Linked DNA regions of Homo sapiens: all the other regions are linked to region 2. The links are contacts of gene promoters, found by promoter capture Hi-C in blood cells and fetal thymus (Javierre and others, 2016). All regions are on one chromosome and are shown on one strand. The core of a region is centred on a gene start or on the middle of the fragment in contact, and the rest is flanking DNA. Distances in the headings are between cores, read along the strand shown. Region 1 overlaps ADCK5 (aarF domain containing kinase 5). Region 2 holds the start of EXOSC4 (exosome component 4). Region 3 overlaps TMEM276-ZFTRAF1 (TMEM276-ZFTRAF1 readthrough).

Region 1 (3,533 bases), core at 485-2,984, 310 kb after region 2:
CGCCATTCTCCTGCCTCAGCCTCCTGAGTAGCCGGGACTACAGGTGCCCACCACCATGCCTGGCTAAATTATTTATTTATTTATTTATTTATTTAGTATTTTTAGTAGAAACGGGGTTTCACTGTGTTAGCCAGGATGGTCTCGATCTCCTGACCTCGTGATCCACCCGCCTCGGCCTCCCAAAGTGCTGGGATGACAGGCGTGAGTCACCGTGCCCAGCCCCCAAAGCCCTTTTGAATGGAGCGTCAGGGCAGGAAGGAGGCAGGGAGGGTGTGGTCCTGTTCTGCCTGCCTCCGAGCATCTGCCAGGCCTAGGTCAGTTTCTCAGCAAGTGCCTCGGCTTCTGGTGCCTTCAGAGATTTCACCAGAAGTTTCACAGAAATTTCCTCCAGCAGTGAGTGGAAGCTTGTGGATAGCTGGGCACCTGAGGATTTTCAGCCTAAAAGACAAAACAGTCGTTCCCCACGTGGGTCTCCCTGGCATCTGGTTTTGCTTGGAGTTCCTGCTGTCCCTGCCTGCAGATTTTGGGTGGCATTGTCTGTCTTGCAGGGCCATCCAGTCTCGCAGCCTGGGGTGGGTGACGACAGAGCCTCGGGTCCTCTGCCTTTTTCTCGTGACCCTCCGCTGCAGTGCATGCAAGGGCCACACAGGGCTGCCAGCCACCGTCCCCTGCAGCCTGGTTCTGAAATGTCGGCTTGGCAGGCCTGGGTTTGTCTCACCCTCTATTTCATGGCATGCAGCTGTGTCTGGTGTCCACCTCCTCGGCCACCGGCTTGGTGAGCCTGCGTTTTGGGCTCACTTTGTGGGAAAACATCTTCTCACAGCTCGCTCTCAGGGGCTGAGCTGGGGTTGCAGGGAGGGACCTCTGTTGTTAATTTTCCCAGCAGTCTGCACGTTCTCCTTGGCTCTAAGCCGTCACGGTTGCATAGACAAGCAGGCCTGTGGAGCTTCCCTGGCAGGGCACAGGGTAGCCTGGGAACACATCCTGGGTGACAGCAGCACCCATGCAGGGGCCCAGGAAGGAGCGCGGGTGAGGAGCATGGCGGTGCCAGTGCACCATGAGAAAAGGCAGCAGAGGTCAGAACAGGCCACAGGTACCCAAATGATCAGGGGCTGCCCAGGAAGGTGGAAGGTTTGGGACAATGTTTCTCTGCCTCAGAGCCCTGTCTTTAATCTCTGCCACTCCTTACATTTTCTTTTTTTTTTTTTTTTGAGACGGAGTCTTGCTCTGTCACCCAGGGTGGAGTGCAGTGGTGCGATCTCAGCTCACTGCAACCTGTGCTCCCTTGGTTTAAGCGACTCTCCTGTCTCGCCTCCCAAGCAGCTGGGATTTCGGGTGTGTGGCACCACGCCCGGCTAGTTTTTGTATTTTTAGTAGAGACAGGGTTTCGTCATGTTGGACAGGCTGGTCTCCAACTCTTGACCTCAGGTGAACTGCTCAGCTCGGCCTCTCAAAGTGCTGGGATTACAGGTGTGAGCCACCACACCTGGCCCTAAACTTAAATCACCACCAGGCGCGGTGGCTCACGCCTGTAATCCCAGCTACTTTGAGAGGCTGAGGCAGGGGAATCACTTGAACCTGGGAGGCGGAGGTTGCAGTGAACCAAGATCACGCCATTGCACTCCAGCCTGGAAGACAGAGCCAGACCCGTCTCAAAAAATAAAAATAAAAAATAAAATCACCTATATGTGGCCGGGCATGGTGGCTCACGCCTGTAATCCCAGAACTTTGGGAGGCCGAGGTGGGTGGATCACGAGGTCAGGAGATCGAGACCATCCTGGCTAACATGGTGAAACCCCGTCTCTACTAAAAAATACAAAAAATTAGCCGGGCTTGGTGGCGGTTGCCTGTAGTCCCAGCTACTTGGGAGGCTGAGGCAGGAGAATGGCGTGAACCCGGGAGGCGGAGCTTGCAGTGAGCCAAGATCACGCCACTGCACTCTAGCCTGGGTGACAGAGCGACTCTCTGTCTCAAAAAAAAAAAAAATCACCTATGTGTTTTGCTTTCCCCCACCGCCCCTTTTTCTTTTATTTTTTGGAGACAGTCTCACTCTGTTGCCCAGGCTGGAGTGCAGTGGCTTCGTCTCAGCTCACTGCAACCTCCATATCCCAGGTTCAAGCAATTCTCATGCTTCGGCCTCCCGAGTAGCTGGGACTACAGGTGTGCGCGCCACCATGCCCGGCTAATTTTTTATATTTTTAGTAGAGATGGGGTTTTGCCATGATGCCCAGGCTGGTCTTGAACTCCTGAGTTCAGGTGATCCGTTTGCCTCAGCCTCCCAAATGGCTGGGATTACAGGTGTGAGCTATCATACCTGAACTAAATTTAACTTTTTTTTTAAAATTTTTTAATTTTTTATTTAACTTATTTTTTTTTATTTTTTGAGATGGAGTTTCGCTCTTGCTGCCCAGGCTGGAGTGCAATGGTGGGATCTCGGCTCACTGCAACCTCCATCTCCCGGGTTCAAGCGATTCTCCTGTCTTAGCCTTCTGAGTAGCTGGAATTACAGGTGCCCACCATCACGCCCGGCTAATTTTTGTATTTTCAGTAGCAATAGGGTTTCATCATGTTGGCCAGGCTGGTCTTGAACTGCTGACCTCAAGTGATCTGCCCGCCTCGGACTCCCAAAGTGCTGGGATTACAGGCATGAGCCACCACGCAGGCCATGCCTGGAGTTTTTGTTGGGGTATTAATACTTGGGCGGGATTGATTGAAAATCTCCAGTTTCTCAGAAAATCCCAGGAATTCAGTTTCCAGCCCCGGTCCTCCCGCTCCCATCCCCGTGGGCCCCAAAGTGGTGGGTCTTCGCCCTGAGTCCCTTCTTAGCATAAGCCCTCAGGGCCACCATGGAAAACAGAGGCACTCCTTATCACTCAGGAAATCCCAAGGACTTAAGAAGGGACAAAGGTCAGTCCTCTGTTTGGGTAAAGTTAATTCTTCATTGCACATGATTGGACACCTTTGAAGATTACAGGCTTGTAAGTATTGTATAACAAGAGTCAGCAAACTGTGGTCCCTGGGCCAAGTGCAGGGGCCTAGTGTGGCAGCTGTCTGATTTGCAAATAAAGCTTTATTGGAACACAGCCATGCCCATGCATTGCCTGTGACCACTTGGTGCACAGTTGCCCATGTGCTCATGCGTGGCCAGAGTGCCTAAAATAATTACCATCTCATCTTTTACAGAAATATTTCACTGCTTCTTATTTTGTCAGTGTGGGTTTGTCTGATGTTTGCTTGTGGTCATATTCGTCATCTGTTTTGGCAGGAATCACACAGGAGTGACACTGCTTCTGTCCTGCCGGGGGCACATGATTTCGGTTTCCCCCATTTGATTCCCTTGTAATTAGCCGTATGGAGGCAGTTGAGATGATGTGTCTGTTCTCACTGCTCCTCCACCCAGCAGTTTGTTTGTTTCTTTATTTATTTATTGAGACAGTCTTGCTCTGTCACTCAGGCTGGAGTACAGTGGCAACATCTTGGCTCACTTCAGCCTCTGCCTCCTGGGTTCAAGCAATTCTCCCAGCCCCAGTCTC
Region 2 (3,862 bases), core at 1,318-3,817:
ATTTGGGCACATGCTTGGCACAGACTGTGTATGTGACCAGCCCTCCATAAAACCCCAGGGCGCTGAGTGTCTAAGAAGCTTCCCTGGCAGACAGCATTTCACACACACGGCTCCAGCTTCTTCCCGTGGAGTCCACCAGGAGAGGACGTGGCCAGCTCACGCCTGATTTCCTGTGGAATTCATCCCATGCACCTTTTCTCTTTGCTGATTCAGACTTATATCCTCTCTGTGTAATAATCTTAGGCGTGAAGACAAGTCTATAGTGAGTCCTTCTAGCAAATCGGTTACTCTGGAGGGGTCTTGGGGATACCTCTCACGGCCCCTGAATTTGTATAAGCTTTAGGCCTCCAAAATTTGAATCGACCCATGTGTGTACCCTAAAGCTGGAGTACGAGGGTCAGAGAACCAAAGGTGTGAGGTAGGAGTGGCCCCATAATCCTAAACCTGTAATGCTGCCAGGTTGGAGGCCTGGTTCCTGAAGATGAATACTTCCACCAGGGAACACAGCAAAGGTTCCACTGATCTTGAAGTAGCGGCTATCACTGGCCCACTTTGGACACCTTAGGCTGAAGACCAACATCGTCCTCATTGTCCTGAGTTGCTACGGTCAATGCTACACAACTGGGGTGGGCAGTCCACAGAGCTCCCTGGGCGTCTAGTCTTCCCGCATGCGGCAAGGACTGTCAGTGGACAACCCAGTAATGGCCATGCGTGGTGGCGGGAGGCCGAGGCAGGTGGATCACCTGAGGTCAGGAGTTCAAGATCAGCCTGGTCAACATGGTGAAACCCCATCTCTACTAAAACTACAAAAAAAAAGTTAGCAGGGCATGGTGGTGCATGCCTGTAATCCCAGCTACCTGGGAGGCTGAGGTAGGAGAATCGTTTGAACCCAGGAGGTGGAGGTTGCAGTGAGCTGAGATTGTGCCACTGCACTCCAGCCTGGGTGACAGTGAGACTCCATCTCCAAAAAAAAAAAAAAAACCTTAGCCAGGCATAGTGGCAGGTGCCTGTAATCCCACCTTCCCAGCTACTTGGGAGGCTGAGATAGAAGAATCACTTGAACCCTGGAGGTGGAGGGTGCAGTGCGCTGACATTGTGCCACGGCACTCTAGCCTGGGTGCAGAGTAAGACTCCATCTCAAAAAACAAAACAAAACAAAGAAACAAACGAAAAAAACGATGACTCAGTAAGAACAGGGACAGTAAGAGCTCAGACTGAAAGGGGAAAAGGGCTCCACAATAAGCAGAGTGGCTGTAGAGCAGAGGGTGGGGAATCCGGGGTGGCAAGTGGCAGAGGGTGGTGACCCATCATGGCCTCAGACCAGCTGCAGCAGCAGGGTTGTGGCTTGCTCACTCACTCTCATGCCTCAGTCTTTCAGGAGAGCTTAACCACCTTGGAGGGGATGCTGTGACAACTGAACTTGGGCCCCTGCAGCAGACCACATTTCCCTAGCCCGCCTGCTCTTCCTACAGTCTAATATTGACACTCCTCCCACTGAAGGGTGGGGTCCCTGTCCTCATCCCTTAAGCCTGGGCAGATCTGTCTGACTGCCTTGACCCACAGAGTGTGGCAGGAGGGACACTATGTGACTTCTGAGGTTAGGTCCTAAAAATACCATGCACATGTTGTCCACCTTGTTGTCCTGGAAGGCTACCCTTGGAACCCAGTTGCCATACTGCAAGGAAGCCCTGGTTGCATGGAGAAGCCACATGTAGGTGTGCTGCCTGACAGGCACAGATGAGGTCCTGGCCCGCCACCAGCATCAGCCACCAAAGATGTGAGGGAGAAAGCTTTAGGATGGCTGCAGCCCCAGCTACCATCTGGCAGCAACTGTAGGAGAGATCCTAAGTGCAAACTATCTAGCTGAGCCTAGATAACCCCAGATTGCAGCACATAATAATAGAATGATTTTTATTATTTGAAGCCGCTGAGGTTAAGTGGCAAGAGATAAACAGACATACAACCCCTCTCTGGAAAGGATGAGGAAATCTGCATCCTCAAAGGGAAAAGGGAGGCCCACCTGACTGCAGTGTGGAAGCTCGGTGTAAAGGGAGGGCATGAGAGGACTGGAGAGGTGCCAGGTGTGGACCATCCTGGGACACCAGCCTGGTCACTTTCCTAGGACCGCTCAATGCCTTCTCCTGTCAGTGTCGCACCCCACTGGGTTCATCCTTCCACTTTCACACTTGGGGCGCGGGGAAGGGCTGAATGCAGGCACCACTGGTCACGAGGGCGTGACTGGGCAATTCCTCCTTCGGCGGGCGCCCACCTCCTGGCACCCGTGGCACAGCTCCGGGAACGGCTGCGGGCCCAGCCGCTGCTTCCCCGATAGCGCCGCCGCAGTTCCCCGGAGACAGAAGTAGAGCCGGACCGCCGGAAACCGTAGATCCGGGGAGGTCGGGGCCGCGGTGAACTCCAGTTCACCAGGACAGGAAGTGACAGCGGAACGCCGGAAACCGCAGATCCACGGAGGTCAGGGCCGCGGAGAGCTGTAGTTCCCCGGAACCGGAAGTGATGGCGGACCTCCGGAAACCGTAGATTCCGGGCGGTCGGAGCCGCCGGGAGCTGTAGTTCTCCCGCGGCTCAGAGAAGTAGGCAGAGAGCGGACCTGGCGGCCGGGCAGCATGGCGGGGCTGGAGCTCTTGTCGGACCAGGGCTACCGGGTGGACGGGCGGCGCGCCGGGGAGCTGCGCAAGATCCAGGCGCGGATGGGCGTGTTCGCGCAGGCTGACGGCTCGGCCTACATTGAGCAGGGCAACACCAAGGCACTGGCTGTGGTCTACGGCCCGCACGAGGCGAGTGGGCGCGCGGGATGGGGAATCGTGTGGCCGTGGGAGCTGCGGGGCAGCCGGGCTGAGCGCTGGCTCGGGGACTTGAGGGGCAACGGCCGGCGCGCCTCAGTCTACACAGCCGATGCTCAGCACCGCATCTCACTCGGAGTAAACGCAAGTCCTTAGTGTGCTGCGCGGTGGTCCTGCCTTTCTCATCGGCCTCTGTCCCTGCGCCCTCCTTCCTCTTTGCGGCTCTTCAACGTGCTAGGCACTCCCCCACTCGCTCCCTCTCCTTTCAGCTCTACTCCGACGTCACTCCTTCCCAGACGACCTTATTATCCACGCGGTACTTCTCGCCCTACAATAAACCCTTTGTTTTGTGCACCTACAATCTCAAATGCCTATTTTGCTTAAGCATTTTCCCCTTTGTTTCCTCGCTGGAACATAAGCTTCCTAAAGAAAGGAACTTTACATAAAACTATCTGGTTTCATTACTGTGCTTCCAGCGCTGTAACTGCCTGGCCAGCGAAGGTATTGAAAGAGTGTTTGCTTAGCGCATGAGTGTGGGAGCTCTGCTTTCCAGGCGGAGGGAACCAGAAGGGCGAAGACCACGGTGGTGAAAACAAGCAAGGCACTTATGCAGAGCAGAAAGACTGCTGGTGGGGAAAGAGGGGATAACTCCAAATCAGGTTGAGGGTTCCCGGGGAGGTGAGGACTTAGGGTTTTGTAGAGTAGGGAAATGATTTGGGATCTTATTTCATATGTAATGTGAAACCTTTGTAAGGTAGTTAGGATTTGAGTGTGTAGGTGAGACAGAAGCAGCGTTGATGTTTGTAAACTTGGGTTGGCAGGGAATGGGGCAAGGATGGACACAAGGAAGCCAATTAAAAGGTGCCAGAGGGCGACACATGCAAGACAGAGAGCGCAAAACAGGGGGCTTTGTTTTGGAGGTAACGCAGTTGCCCCTTGCTGAGGCATTGAAAGTGGAGGGAGAGGCAGACCCACAGAGGACAGTGGAGTGTGAGCTGGAAGGAGTGGGCCTGGCTCATGTGTCTGTCCTCTTCCAGATCCGGGGCTCCCGGGCTCGAGCC
Region 3 (3,783 bases), core at 141-2,640, 370 kb after region 2:
TGGGAGTAGAAACCCACAGCATTCTCAGAAACAGCTCCAGAAAGTTTCAGCCCGTGAGGGGCAGTGCGGCGGCCCGGGAGGGAAGAGCTGACTGGGAGGGTCATGCTGGGCTGTGCCATGGTCAGCCGCCCGGATGATGGCGCTTACATTCTGCCCCCAGTTCCTCTCCATTTCTCAGCCCTCGACCCGTGACCAGCAAAGCACAGGACAATGTGGGCCAGGCCCCAGCAGCCAGTGGGGGCGGGTTGGGCTGCTGTGAGGCAAGTTAATGCACCTGACTGGAGCAGAGGAAACCAGTTCTTTGGTATTGAAGCAACAAAAAGCTATCACGGAAGAGCCACATCTCCTAAGCAAAGGTGGGGGCGTCAAGCTGTATCCTTCCCAGTAGCCCTGGGAGTCCCAGGGGAAGAAAGGACCAGGGATTACCCCTCCAGGCAGGGTTCCTTCCCATCCTGTTAGGCCAGCCCTGCTCAGCCACCACGGGGCACATCAGGGGGCGGCCAGGGTGAGGATGGGAAGGGCCCACCTCCTCCAGGTGAGAAGCTGGGCTGCCCAACCTCTGACCTCTGCAGCGAGCCCTGAATGCAGGGCCAGCAGCAGGACCCCGAGAGCAGCATGGGGGACACACCTCAGACTCTCACCCAGCCAGGCGCCCAAGCACTGACCCAAGCTTTCCACACAGCCTGGGGACGCTGGGCCCTCAAGGCTGAATCTACAGTAAATAGACTCTTTCTCACTAAAATTGTGTAACTTATCCAAGAGCCTGCAAGGAGTTTAATCTTTTTCCTGGGAAGAGACAATTTCACCCTGCTTTCGGAAAATGCCTGCTGAGCCCTGGTGGCTGAGTCCTGTCTCCCTGGGAGCGGCCGGTTGGCCAGGGCAGCCCCGACCCTACCTGGATCTTCCTGCCCAAGCCTCAGTCTCAAGACCCCATGACAGAGTGTAGGGGGAGGCAGTGTCTCTGAGTCTTTCCTCGGGGGACGTGTGCGGGCACACAGATGGGGGCGGGGCAGGCTCTGACCCCCAGGCCAAACCAAAGCCCCCACGCTGTCCATTCACAGCCATGCCTTCCCCTCGAACAAAACAGAAAGTACGAAACAAGGCTGCCTTTTAATTGCTATCAGATATTCGGATATCCCGTCTGATGTCAGCAAGGCCCCCGCGCCCCGCCGGAACCCGCAGGGATGGAGCAGCACCGCCGCCTGACTGCACAGAAGGGCTGGGGCAGGGTCGCTGTGCCTCTCGGCCTCCTTGCTGCCACCGTCTCTGAGCCTCGGGGCGCCTGGTGCACCGTCTCCTCTTCGGGTCAGCCCAGCCTCTGGCGGCCCTCGGAAGGAGGGGAGGCAGGGGTCGGGGGGGTGAGCCGGAGGCGGGGGCCCCGTCGCGCACGCATGCAGACTTGCCCTGTGTTGGCTTCGTTTGTTCTCCTCCTTTGCTAAAGTGATCAGATAGTCCTGTGAAGCAGCTGCCAGCCAGGTGGACAGGGCAGCGGTGCTGGGATGCCGCCCGTGGGCTCCTCGGACATCCTGAGGCCCCGCCCTACTTCTGTATCTGGAACAGGAAGAGCCGCAGGTTGATGTTCTTGGCAGCCAGCAGCTTGTTGCACTCCACGGAGTCAATGATGGGCAGTGGCACGTAGTCCGTCTCGTTGCTCTCGTTGGTGAAGACAAAGTGGTAGATGACGGGGCTGATCCTCACGTCGTCGTAGGGGCCCTTGAGCAGCAGGAAGGAGCACTCCAGCGGTGCCGTGACCTTGCTCTTGAGGAGGAGCTGGAAGGAGAGCGTACGCTTGCAGGACAGGTTGGGGTTACGCTCCGAGTCGTTGACTCGAGCCTTCAGGACCCACGTCTGGTTCAGCACTGTGAACCTGGGCGTCTCATAGTACAGGCGCGTGATGAAGTCGTCTGTGCGGTACGGCCGGAACTGGACCTCTGTGGAGACAGACAGGGCCGGAAAGAGCCGGCTGTTAGTGTGGGCAGGGCTGGGCAGCAACGCCTTCCCTGACCAGGCCGAGGGCAGGCTCAGCCGGGGAGGAAGGCAACTTACCCGGACACCGGGCTCTGCTTGTCACAAGCAAGCCAAACGCAACTATGGCAAATGGAGGTGCACACAAGCTTTGAGGGGAACAACCACAAACAGAATCAACATGGATTAGCTGGAGAGTCCAGAGGCTGCACGTGTCAGGCCACACCCCAGGCGTGCCCGACCCACGCTGGCCTCCCTCACCGCCCCGAGCCCCGGGTGTCCCCCAGGGCGGGGTAAGCAGACACACAGACAGGATGCGGTTCCGAGAACAAGTGCACTTTATTGGTTCTGATACAGAGGAGCTGCCAGAAAAGCCAGCAGGCGGCTGCGGCACCCAGCCCTGCCCGAGGGGAGCACCAGGTCTGCAGGCACCGGGCCTGATCCGGAGCTGCCAATCAGCAGGCAGCCCTGCCTGCACAGTCCTCTTGGGCAGCCCACAGCCTGTGGCCGGCAAGTCCCTCCGTGGAGGCGTGGGTTCCCAGGTGGCCAGTCTTTCCTGCGCGAATGGGGCTTCTCACCTGGCCACGGCCACAGCCACAGTGCCCCAGCCTGCCTAGACTCCACGAGGCCCCGGTATCTCCAGGACAGCTAAGGCTGCTACTCACCACGGGCTGTGGCTGCCGCAGAGACCCCAGGCCCTCGGCCTCTCTGGCCTGCTCGGGCCCACATCCCGCTGGGCACAGTCCAGGCAGCAGGGCGGGACTGGCTGCCCACGACCACCCTGCTTGCGCCACGCCTGGTGCTCTGAGCTGGCCGCCTGGTGTGGGCTGAGAGTAGAGGGATGGAGCTTCCTCCAGTGGCCCCAGCATCAACAGGTGCTTCTCGCTGTCCTCTGGGCCAGGCTCTGGCCTGGCTCCTGCTCCCCGACACGTTCAAAGGCGGTGGCAGCGGCCCAGAGAGCCACGAGATCCAGTGTGCCTGCGCACGCATCCAGCCTGGGCGTCTGTGGGTGTCCACTCCCGGTTCTACAGTTTGAGTCGGGCACCCTCAGCTTGTTGTGGAGCCCTCTCCCTGAATGGCTTCGTGCCAGCCTTGAGAGGCCCATGGCCGGGGCAGTGACTGCCTGCAGGTAGGACCTCACTCGGCAGGGTGCTCTTCTTGCCCCAGGGTCCGAGGGGCAGGCCCCTAGCTCCCAGGCCCCCTGAGACCTGCCCACTTTCTGGTTAGACCCTGACTGTCTTGAGGCTCTGGAGCCCCACAGTGAGATGCCACCTTGCAGGGATGGTGAAGCCAGGGTGGCGAGGACAGGTGGGCGGGGCTGCTGTGAGAGCCACACAGGTGTGCACCTGGGGTCTGCCTCGGCCCCTCCTTCCACTCAGTCTCCGGCCTGTCTTCTCGACCGAGGTGTCCACCTGTCCACCGGGAGCTTGTCCAGAGCCCGGCTGTCCGGCGCTGTCAGTGCCCAGTGCCCAGAGCCTGCTGCCCCCAGACTCCTGGCTGCCAGCCCCCCAACCCACACCTGTGTGGCATGCAGCAGGCGGCGGGGCGCCTCACCTGTGTAGCCAATCTTCTCGAAGCTGAGCAGGCTGAAGATGCTGTTGTACAGCTGCATCTCCTTGCGGTGGCTCTGGTCCATCCCATCCAGGATCTCCATCAGCTCACTGCCTGTCTTGGTCGGGTGGGCGCACGCAGCCTCGTGCACCGTCAGCTCATGGAAGGGGCCGTGCCATGGGCAGCCGATGCGTTTGTACTTGCACTGGGTTACCCTGGGGGAGGCAGGTACATCACTCACAGACTGAGCCCCGAACAGGAGGCTGC

What was found. The method cuts DNA at HindIII sites, captures the fragments that hold promoters and counts their contacts. A CHiCAGO score of 5 or more calls a contact.
Region 1: a fragment that was not itself captured here is called in contact with the fragment with the promoter of EXOSC4 in region 2 in 2 of 17 cell types (erythroblasts and endothelial precursors); the score reaches 7.4 in erythroblasts.
Region 3: a fragment that was not itself captured here is called in contact with the fragment with the promoter of EXOSC4 in region 2 in 1 of 17 cell types (erythroblasts); the score reaches 7.7 in erythroblasts.

What each region holds. Positions count from the first base shown.
Region 1 is chr8:144,383,992-144,387,524 of GRCh38, forward strand. The region is part of intron 3 of ADCK5 (aarF domain containing kinase 5); the gene reads left to right. Among named protein-coding and RNA genes, the nearest start is that of MIR939, 8.5 kb to the right of the region's middle. The HindIII fragment of the contact is 2,664 bases long and covers 403-3,066 here.
Region 2 is chr8:144,076,105-144,079,966 of GRCh38, forward strand. It overlaps EXOSC4 (exosome component 4), which reads left to right and starts at 2,568. Exons shown (of 3, transcript NM_019037.3): 1 at 2,568-2,795; 2 at 3,839-3,862. The coding sequence starts at 2,625. It overlaps MIR6847 (microRNA 6847), which reads left to right and starts at 3,770; the gene lies at 3,770-3,838. LOC124902038 (a long non-coding RNA gene) reads right to left here. Exons shown (of 2, transcript XR_007061141.1): 2 at 1,895-3,862. RefSeq lists enhancers at 2,280-2,329, 2,340-2,639. The HindIII fragment of the contact is 1,430 bases long and covers 1,789-3,218 here.
Region 3 is chr8:144,448,840-144,452,622 of GRCh38, forward strand. TMEM276-ZFTRAF1 (TMEM276-ZFTRAF1 readthrough) reads right to left here. Exons shown (of 5, transcript NM_001408018.1): 4 at 3,520-3,731; 5 at 743-1,931. The coding sequence ends at 1,540. ZFTRAF1 (zinc finger TRAF-type containing 1) reads right to left here. Exons shown (of 4, transcript NM_001330618.2): 3 at 3,520-3,731; 4 at 743-1,931. The coding sequence ends at 1,540. Among named protein-coding and RNA genes, the nearest start is that of TONSL, 6.3 kb to the left of the region's middle. The HindIII fragment of the contact is 1,444 bases long and covers 669-2,112 here.